Linked DNA regions of Homo sapiens: region 1 is linked to region 2. The links are contacts of gene promoters, found by promoter capture Hi-C in blood cells and fetal thymus (Javierre and others, 2016). All regions are on one chromosome and are shown on one strand. The core of a region is centred on a gene start or on the middle of the fragment in contact, and the rest is flanking DNA. Distances in the headings are between cores, read along the strand shown. Region 1 holds the start of IGFL2 (IGF like family member 2). Region 2 holds the start of PPP5C (protein phosphatase 5 catalytic subunit).

Region 1 (5,176 bases), core at 2,655-5,154, 200 kb after region 2:
AATATAATTCCACGTACCAAAGAGAATAAAATACTTATGAATAAATTGAACAGAAGAGGTGCAAGATTTGTGCATTAAAAACAACAAAACATTGTTGAAAAGAATTAAGAATATGTAAATAAATGGAAATACATCCATGTTCGCAAATTGGAAGACTTAATATTGTTCAGGTGCCAAAAATCCCAAATTGATCTATAGAATCAATGCAATCCATATCAAAGAACTTTTGTGAGATCAAGTGTCACTCTGTCACCCAGGCTGGAGTGCAGTGGCGTGATCATGACTCACTGCAACCTCCGCCTCACAGGCTTAAGTGATCCTCCCACCTCAGCCTCCCAAGTAGCTGGGACTACAGACGCACACCGCATGCCTGGCTAATTTTTTGCATTTTTTGGTAGAGATGTGGTCTCACCATATGGCCCAGGCTGGTCTCTTAACGCCTGAGATCAAGCCATCCACCTTCCTTGGCCTCCAAAAGTGCTGGGATTACAGGCATGAGCCACAGGACCCAGCCTTCTCTGAAGAAATTAATCAGTTGATCCTAAAACTCATATTGAAACATAAAGGACCGAGAATAACTAAAACGATCTTGAAAAAGAACAAAATTGTAGAATTGATACTTCATGATTTCAAAGCTTACCACAAAGCTATAGTGACAGTGTAGGAGCTGACACACAGGATAGACATATAGATCAATGAATAAAACTAACAGTCAGAAAATAAACCCTTAGATTTGTTGAAATCAAATTTCAACAAAAGTGCTAGGACTATGAAGTAAGGGAACAAATGATTTTTCAACAAATGGTGCTGGGAAAACTGTATATTCATACACAAAAGAGTGGGCAGAAAGAGGATCTCTTCCTCATACCATACACAAGGATTAACTCAAAATGTATCACAGACCTAAATACAAGAGCGAACATATAAAACTCTTAGCAGAAATGTAAAATAAGCAACCCACAGAAAGACAAATACCACACCATCTCACTTGTATGTAGAATCTAAAAGAGTTGAACTCATAGAAGTAGAGAGAAGGGCAGTTACCAGAGGATTGGTGTGGGCAGATGGGCAACAGGGAGATAAGCAAATGATATGAAGTTACAGTTAGACAGGAAAGATAGGTTTTAGAGATCCACTGCAGGGCACGGTGACTATAATAAATAATAGTGTATTGTGGGCTGGACGTGATGGCTCATACCTGCAATCCCAGCACTTTGGGAGGCCAAGGAGGAGGGTTGCTTGAGCCTACAAGTTGGAGACCGGCCTGGGCAACACAGTGAGACATCGTCTCTATGAAAAACAAAATTAGCATGGTGTGGTGGTGCGTGCCTGTGGTCTCAGCTACTTGGGAGCTGAGGTGGAAGGATCACTTGAGCCTCAGAGGTAGAGGGTGCAGTGAGCTGTGATCACACCACTGCACTCCAGACTGGGCATCAGAGTGAGACCCTGCCTCTTAAAAAAACAAATGGTGTGTTGTATATTTCAAAATTGCTGAAGAGTATATTTTAAATGTTCTAGTGACAAAAAGTAATAAGTATATTAGGTGGTAGATATGGTAATTAATTTGATTTATCATTTAACAAGGCAAACATACATTAAATCATCATATTTTACCCCATAAATATACACAATTATTCTTTGTCAACTTCTTAAAAAGATTCCTAGCAGAAAACATACAAGTAAGTCTTAATGACCTCGAGTTAGGTAATATTTTCTTAGATATTACACCAAAAGCACAAGAGAGAAAAGAAAGAATAGACTTCATCAAAAATTAAAAACCTATGCACTGCAAGCAATAGCATCAAGGAAATGAACACAATCCACATAATGAGGAAAGTATTTGCAAATTATATATATGATAAGGGATGAGTATCCAGCATATCTTCTAAAACTCTTACAACTAAATAATAATAAAATAAATAACCCAATTTAAACATGGAAAAATCTGAATAAACCTTTTCTCAAAAAGGAATACAAATGGCCAATAAGCACATGGAAAAGACACTCAGCATTGTTATTTACCAAGGAAACGCAAATTAAAACTACACAGGATATCACACCCACCCACCCAGATGACTGTAATAAACAGGAAAATAGAAAATAACAAAGGTTGAAGAATCTGGAGAGAAATGTGAGCCCTCATACACTGCTGGTGGGAATGTAATTGATGCAGCTCTGTGGAAAACAGTTTGCCAATTCCTCAAAAAGTTAAACAGAATTACCATGTGGCGTAGCAATTCCACTCCTATGTGTACACCCAAGATAACTGAAAACAGGTTCTCAAGCAAATACATGTATACATATGTTTGTAACAGCACTATTCACAATAGCCAAATGGTGGAAACAGCCCAAGTGTCCATCAACAGATGAATGGATAAATGAATGCTGATACATGGATACAATTGAATTTATTCAGTTGTAAAAAGGAATGAAGTACTAATAAATTCTATAATGGGGATATGCCTTGAAAACATTAAGTTAAAAAAAAAGTTACACGAAAGGTCACTTATAAATGGTGTGATTCCATTTATATGAAATGTCCCAGATAGGTAAATCCATAGAGACAGAAAGCTGACTGGTGGTTGCCAAGGGTGAGGGTAGAGGGGAAAGAGAGGAACAGCTAAATGGGCATGCGGTGGTCGGGGGCTATGGAGCCAGGTGACTCGGAGGTAAAAAGCAATTCTGGAAGATGACTGAGCTACTCTTCCTTCAACTTGAGAGAGGAAGGAAGAGAAGGAAGGAGAGGAGGGAAAAGACAGGGAGGGGAGAGGGGAAGAGAAGAGAGGGGGATGTGAGACAGAGGGACACAGGGAGATGGGGAGGGGAGGGGGAGGGGGAGAGGGGAAGAGGGGGAGAGGTGGAAAGGGTGAGGGGTGAGTGGGAAAGAGAAAGAGAGAGAGAGAGAAAAGGGAGAGAGAGAAAAGAGAGGGAGAGAGAAAGAGAGGGAGAGAGAAAGAGAGAGAGAAGAGAGAGAGAGAGAAGAGAGAGAGGGAGAGAGAGAGATGGTTGCCCAAAAAGAAGTTAGTGAACACAGCAGGCATTGCTCATCTTGATGGAATACACACAACAAAACTCAGTCCACTGCCTGGGCTGCCCTTACTTACCCAGCACACTCCTGGGGTAGTCGGTCCTCATGCCTGAGACACTGAACCTCATGATTTCCTGGCGCTGAGAGCCCAGGAACTCCAGGCAATAGTGCCTGGGCTACAGGGCTGGGTCTGGTTCGAGGGCAGGATGATCCCCTCATCACAGTCCCAACAGATTGCAGATCTAGTCTCCACTCCTGAGTGTCAACTGGCACAACCACAGTCCAATATCTGGAAGAGTCAGAGCTGATGAGCTGGCAGGGGACCTCTGGGAGCCCCCAACCCTATCCACAGTGCTATAATCCTCCCTCCTTTCTTCTCCCTCCACTCACCACACCCATTCTCACCTATGGTCCCTTCTGAGTCTGAGCCCAGGAGTTCAAAAATAAAGATCAGCTGAGAGAAGAATGACAGTGATTCTGGGGTCACCAGATCATGATCATGGGGCACAAGATGATGTCTCTGAGTTTCTTTGGTTGCTGTAACAGCTCAGAGCAGATTTTGGGACTGACTCTGTGTGCAGGTTCTGGGCATTGGGCTTGGCAGGTGAGGAAATGCAGGGAGGGCTCTGGAAAGGGTTAAGCTTCTGGAATTTGCAGGTGGGGAAGAGAGATTGCAATGCAGTCAGAGAGGACACGGGTGATTATGAGGTGGGAAACCAAGAATTAAATAGGGAAGAGAGAATTAAGTTTGAGGTTCAGAGGTACATTAGGGATAACAGTAGGCATTAGCTCAACCTGGGGCAAGGGTTACCTTACCGAAGATTCTGGGCACCATGGAGCTTCAGAGCAGCTGATGGGACAGCAGCAGTGCAAATGGGTCAGTGACTTTATACAGGGACTTATGTAGGCTATGAACTTATCCACATTTAGGGAGGTGCCCAGAAGCACTGGCCTCTTGGAAAGGGTGGGGCATGAGAAGCCACAGAAAGCATAAGAAAAAACTGCATCAACAGCTTAGTAAGATGTTCCTGGACCTGTTCCAAGTGACTGCTACCTTCTCAGACCTCTCGAAATCTCAGAGTAAAGGCTTCCCTAGAACCTTTCAAAGCCGTGAGTGAGTGTCATTCTTTGAACTCTGCCCACGGCAAAGAGACTTGAAAGAGATTCCTTGGCTCTCACTTATCTGAGAGCATACTACTCACCAAACATCACAGCTGGTGATGAAACTTCATATTCATCCACCCTGAAGTTTCAAGGGGTCCCTCTACTCCCCATCTCAGTCCGGCTCCAGACCTGCACTATGAGAAACAAACGCACCCGTCCAAACCCAAAGAATGGACTCAGAGACACAGAAAACAGTGGAAGCAAGACTTTTAATGATGGTCTTGCAAGATTGAATGTCTGGTAGGCAGGCACACCCAGTACGGTTACAACAAGCTATTTATCCCCTAGTGCACAAGTCTCTCCCCTGGTTCCTCGTAGGCTAAGTACGATGGGGTCACGATCTTCCCAGACGTCGCCTATTGGTTGCTGGGTTGAGGCTTTTAGGTGTTTTCTTTAGGATTGTCTCACTGCATTTTGTTGCAGCCTATAATACATTGCAATCAAAGCCAGCTCGAGGGCTTTTCAAGTATTTGACTTATGACCTAGGCAGTCAGGCAAGCTGATAAGAATAGATAAAGTGAGCTATTTTGCTGGCTAGTAAACTTTCATTCTAGACTAAACTCTGGTTTGGGAGAGGGTAACTAAGGGGACCCCGACAAGCATGCACCAGCTATGGGCCTAGTATATTCTGTCCTTCCATAGTTTGTGGGCCTCAGCCTATCTGAGGTACTTTGTCTTGGAAATGGACCACCATATCCATTATTATAATTGTAGACAGCACTGTCTATAATTCTTCAGAGTCATTTAGGGGAAACTGTGAAGATGCAGCATAATCTAGAAAAAGAGCAGGGGCTGTAAAAACCCTGCCAGGGAGAACAGAAAAGGAACAGACAGTGATAAAATAGACATCTGGGATTCATAGAATAGATGGAAAGGCAGCCCCTTTTTGTTGTTGTTTCTGGAGTGCTTTGTCCAAGGAAACGCTCCTTCTGTGTTTCTTACTGTTATTTTATTGTCACCATCACTATTATTTGTGTCACTGGA
Region 2 (5,158 bases), core at 2,143-4,642:
AGGACTCCTGAGAGCCTGGATCCCAGGTCCTGGGGGGCAACAGGCTCCTCCCAATGGCTGCTGTGGCCCAGAATTCTGATGCGGCCTCAGCAGCAACCCCCATGCAGGCTGCTCCCATCCCAGGGAATTCCACCTTCCACCCCATCACCTGGCTGAGACAGCCTCATCCTGGACTCCTCTCCATCCCTCAGCCCCCAAAGCCCGGTAGTCACTTCACTTATTCTGCCAAGTCAGCCTCCTGAACATCTCTCAGATTCAGCCACTCCCTTCTCACCCTCCAGCCCCACCCAGCCCTGGTCTGGCCTCTCCTGCCCAGGTTCCTGGCTCAGCCTCCACCTGGCCTCGCAGCCTCTTGTCCTGCCCCTCCAGAGGGGTGTTCCTAAAACACAAACCTGACCCTGTCCTTTCCCTACTCAGAACCTCCCAGGGCTCCCCAGAGCCCCACCCCCCACCGCCACCCCACCCCAGAAAGCCCTGGCTCCTTCCTACAGCCCTGCGCAATCTACTCCCTGCAAACTCATCATAACCTCCTCCAGCCTCCTACGCTGTGGCCCCACTTATGGCCTCCATGCCTGGCTCTGCTCACCTTTGGGCCTTTGCCACCTGTTTTTGTTTTTTTTTTCCCTGCCTGGAGTACCGTCCACCCTCTCTCCAGGCAGCCACTCTCACTTCCTCCCTGAAACACTTCTTGAATCTATTTCTGTCCCTCCAGCCTGGCTGGCGATCACCACCCCTCCTCACCTGTCCACTAATCTAGACTCCTTCCTGTCTTACCCTGGAGTCCAGTCTCTGCATGGCAGCCAGGGATCTTTTCTGAACACTAACTGAACCACAGCACCCCGCTCTTGAAACTTCCCATGGCATCGACCACCCCCAGGATGACACCCATATTCCCCAATCTGACTTCCAAGGTTCTACCTCTGGCCTCATCTCTCACTGGTCCTACCTCCCTCTCACGGCTCCCACCGGATCGAGCTTCTCCACACTTTGCTTCTGCTCCCGTTGGAGGCCAAGTCTCTTCCAGGGCTCCAGACCCTTCCCACCTCCGCCTTCTCCAGGGTTTTGCTGCTGCAAGTCCCCCCTCTCCTGTGCAGAATCAATTCTCCATCTCTATTGGACTCTACTCTCTTCCATCCTTACAAAAAATCCATCTTTCCCTGACACTGCATCTTCTCTCTTTTTTTTTTTCTTGAGACGGAGTCTGTTGCCCAGGCTGGAATGCAGTGGTGTGATCTTGGCTCACTGCAGCCTCTGCCTCCAAGGATCAAGCAATTCTCCTGCCTCAGCCTCCCAAGTAGCTGGGACTACAGGTGTGTGCCACCACACCCAACTAATTTTTTCAGCAGAGACGTCGTTTCACCATGTTGGCCAGGTTGGTCTCGAACTCCTGTGCACGTTCTCGTCTTACCACCCTCCCCCATTTCTCCACTCCCCTTCAGAACCAATACTCCTAACACTTAACATTTGCTGTCTCCACTTCCTCCCCTCCCATTCACTCTTCAGCACCTCCTGGCTGCATCACCCCCATCACTCCCCAATAACTGCTCCTGTCAACATCACTACCAGCATCCATGGAGCCAAAGCCAATGGCCAGTGCTTGCCTTGGCAGCATCGGACTAAAGGCACCAGCTCCTTGTTCTAGAAGCGCTCCCTTCTCTCAGCCTTCCCGACACCTTTCCTGGCTTCCTTTCCACCTCACTAAGTGCTCCTCCTTAGCCTCACCCTCTTCCATTTGGGTTCTGTCCTAAGTCCCCCCTCTAGACCCTCTTACTAGATGATCTCATCCATTCCCAACCATAGTTTGATCACACCCAAATTCTTCTCCAGTCCAGACTGGCCCATTTACTTAATGTGTCTTCTTGTAGGGCTGGGCGTGGTGGCTCATGCCTGTAATCCCAGCACTTTGAGAGGCCGAGATGGGCGGATCACCTGCGGTCAGAGGTTCGACACCAGCCTGGCCAACATGGCGAAACCCCATCTCTACTAAAAGTACAAAAATTATCTGGGCATGGTGGTGTGCGTCTATAATCCCAGCTACTCGGGAGGCTGAGGCAGGAGAATCGCTTGAACCAGGGAGGCGGAGGTTGCAGTGAGCCGAGATTGCGCCATTGCACTCTAGCCTGGGCAAAAAGAGCAAAACTCCCGTCTCAAAAAAAAAAAAAAAAAAAAAATTCCAAACTGGTCTTTGTAATGACTCACGGAGACCCTGCATGATCTGGCCTCTGTCCTAATCTCATCTTGTTATTGGTCTCCCCCTAAGTAGCCAAAGCCCCAGCCATGCCAGTACCCTTTCATTCCCCATCCCAGGGCCTTTGCACAGGCTGCTTTACCTCCCTGGAACACTCCTCTCCAGTTCTCCCTCTGTGAGTTTCAGCTTAAACGCCTCCTGCTCAGTAAGGCCTTCCCCCACTACCCTATCTAAAGTAGCCTCCAACCCTTATTCTCTACTTCATCACACTGCTGGTTTGCTTTCAAAGCACTCATCACAATTTAAGTATTTTACTTATTTACATGGTTTTTTTTTGTTTTTTTTTTTTTCATGTCTGGTTCACCTGCAAAATTACAAGCTAAGGACAGGGCCACATCTGTCTCATTCACTGCTATATCCCCAAAGTCAAGCACAGTCCTTGGCACATAACAGGTACTCAATAAATATTTGTTGAATTAATGAATGAATGGGTGCCCCACACTTGACTCTCAATATTCTAAGTGATACTATTCTTAAGGATCCCCACCCTTACTCCCAAGGCCCCCACCATCACATTCCTTTTCCTCGGGTCAGCCCAAATCTCCTACTTCCTTGTTCCCCCCATCTAATGATCCATTCCCCACCCCCACGATTGCCTTCTCTATTGGGGCTGTGCCCCCTCTACCCCCCACTTGGCGGCACCCACCCCAGGACTCCCCATTTGGTAGCGCCATCAATCACTCCCCCACCACATGTCACTGCCTGGTAGCGCCCTCTACAGGCCTCACGTTTGGTAGCGCCCTCATTCCAGTCCCCCTCTCGCCCCACAATTGGTGGCGCCCTCCTCAGTCTCTCCACTGAGTAGCACCCGCTCCGCACGCCACTCCTAGGTATCACTCTCCGAAGCCCCCTATGTCGCTCCTTGGCAGCGCCATCCTGGGCCTCCCCACGCCCGGTCACTTGGTAGTGTCTGCCCCGCGCCCAGGCTGCAGCTCCGCGTTGCTATGGTTCCGCGCGGGCCCGGCACCCCTCAGCCTGGGCCACTGTCCACCCTCCCTGCCAGGCGGGCGCACCTTTGAAGTAGTCATTGGCCTGAGTCTTGAGCTCCTCTGCCCGCTTCAGAGCTCCATCAGCCGGGGGTTCGTCCCGGGGGGGCTCAGCACACTCAGTCCTCTCGCCCTCCGCCATCGCCATGCCGCAAAGCGACCCCTACCCTGGCAACGGCCGCCAGCGGCACCCGGCCGAACCGTCGCGAAGGAGCGCCGGGTGGCCGCCGCCGCTGCCGCACAAGTGTCGTAAAGCGCGGGCCCTGAAGGCGCCCTTCACGCGCCTGCGCAGGTCCCTTTCGCCACAGAGCGCGCGGAGGACAAGGTGACCAGAGGTTCCCCAGACGGTACCCCTGGTAGAGAGAGCCAATAGGGAATGAGAGAAGGGGCGCGCGGGGAAACAGACCTGGTGTGGCCTCTCCTCCCAAAGTTACCGTGTTCCAAGGCTGTAAAAAGTTTCTCGGTTCTGAAAGTGGGATTTCCCCGCTGTCCTCTAGGGTTGGGGGGTGGGTTGTGAATGTCGCTGGCGGGTGTGGCTGTTTTGCAAGGCAGCGCCATGCCCTACGCGGAGCCGGACCCGGGCGTCGAGCCCTATTGTCGACTACCTGTGTGACCTTGAACAAATCTTCCCTTCCTCTCTAGGGTCTCAGTTACCCATCTCTGAAAAATTAGTGGTTTCTCAAGCCAAAAAGGGTCCAACCTTGAGGGTCAGTGTTTGAGTTTTTAACTGAAGGCACTCTGGATTTCAAGTCCTGAGCAAGGCTTAGAAGTGTGTTGCACCATCTCCTTTCTTCCTGTGTTCAGCTTCCCAAATCCTGAATCTTCAAATAAACTCTCCTGTTTGTGTTTTTACAGATTCTCTTGTCTGAGATCACAGCATTGATTGCATGCACTCTGCCTCCCTCCAGTTTACCCTTCACATTTTTTTTTTTTTTTTTTTTTTTTTGAGAGGGAGTCTCCCTCTGTCGCCCAGGCTGGAGTGCAGTGGCGCCATCTAGGCTCACTGCAACCTCCGCCTCCCGGTTTAAGCGATTCTTCTGCCTCAGCCTCCCAAGTAGCTGGGATTACAGGCGCCCGCCACCATGCCCGGCTAATTTTTGTATTTTAGTAGAAACGGGTTTCACCACGTTGGCCAGGCTGGCCTCGAACTGCCGACCTCAAGCTATCCGCCCGCCTCGGCCTCCCAAAGTGCTGGGATTACAGGCGTGAGCCACCGTGCCCGGCCGAGGGATCTTTCTAAGACATGATAAAACCATGGCACACTCTCGCTCCCAGGCTTCCATGGCCCCAGCACCCTTAGGAGAAAACCCAAACTCCTGATTAGGAGACCCTGAATAGTCTTAACCTCAGGCTGAATAGTCTAATATCCAGATTCCACCCCTTTGCCAATCCCCACCCGCCGTACACGCTTCCAGTCTGTCCTTTCTAAGCCCTCATGTAGCACTAAGTCCTGTAAGGCTCTGGATCCCCTCCTGGAAGCACACTCCTAAACCTATCTATCCCACTCCCAAACCTCTTGTTAGTCCAACCCCATCTCTCCTACTGGCCCCCAGCACAACCAACAATCACCCTAAAGGGCAGATATTAGTATCATCTCCATTTTACAGATAAAGACACAGACTTGCAGAGGTGTTTGACGAAGGTCACAACAACATAAGAAGGTGACAGAGCCAGGATCAGGAATCCCATCTAATTCCTATGTCCTTCATTGCCACTCTACTGCCTCTGTAGGTGCCAGAGCCCATCTTGGTGGGTTAGTAAATTTTTCTTTTGTTTGTTCGTATTGTTTGTTTTGGGGTTGGGGGAAAAGGAGCTGCCATAGTGGATTTGAATTCTGGTTTCGAGTCCAGCGGAATCCTTCCTGACACTGTGACCTTGGGCAAGTGATCACCCTCTTCTAAGCCTCAGTTTCAACCTCTGTAAA

Evidence for each region. Contacts are between HindIII fragments. The CHiCAGO score rates a contact against its expected background, and 5 or more counts as called.
Region 1: the fragment with the promoter of IGFL2 here is called in contact with the fragment with the promoter of PPP5C in region 2 in 3 of 17 cell types (neutrophils, M1 macrophages and M2 macrophages); the score reaches 8.3 in neutrophils.

The regions. Positions count from the first base shown.
Region 1 is chr19:46,146,966-46,152,141 of GRCh38, reverse strand. IGFL2 (IGF like family member 2) reads right to left here and starts at 3,904. Exons shown (of 4, transcript NM_001135113.2): 1 at 3,845-3,904. The coding sequence starts at 3,863. The HindIII fragment of the contact is 5,659 bases long and covers 3,672-5,176 here.
Region 2 is chr19:46,345,321-46,350,478 of GRCh38, reverse strand. PPP5C (protein phosphatase 5 catalytic subunit) reads right to left here and starts at 3,392. Exons shown (of 13, transcript NM_006247.4): 1 at 3,262-3,392. The coding sequence starts at 3,382. RefSeq lists enhancers at 1-18, 839-898, 3,145-3,274, 3,375-3,554 and a silencer at 419-478. The HindIII fragment of the contact is 16,758 bases long and covers 1-5,158 here.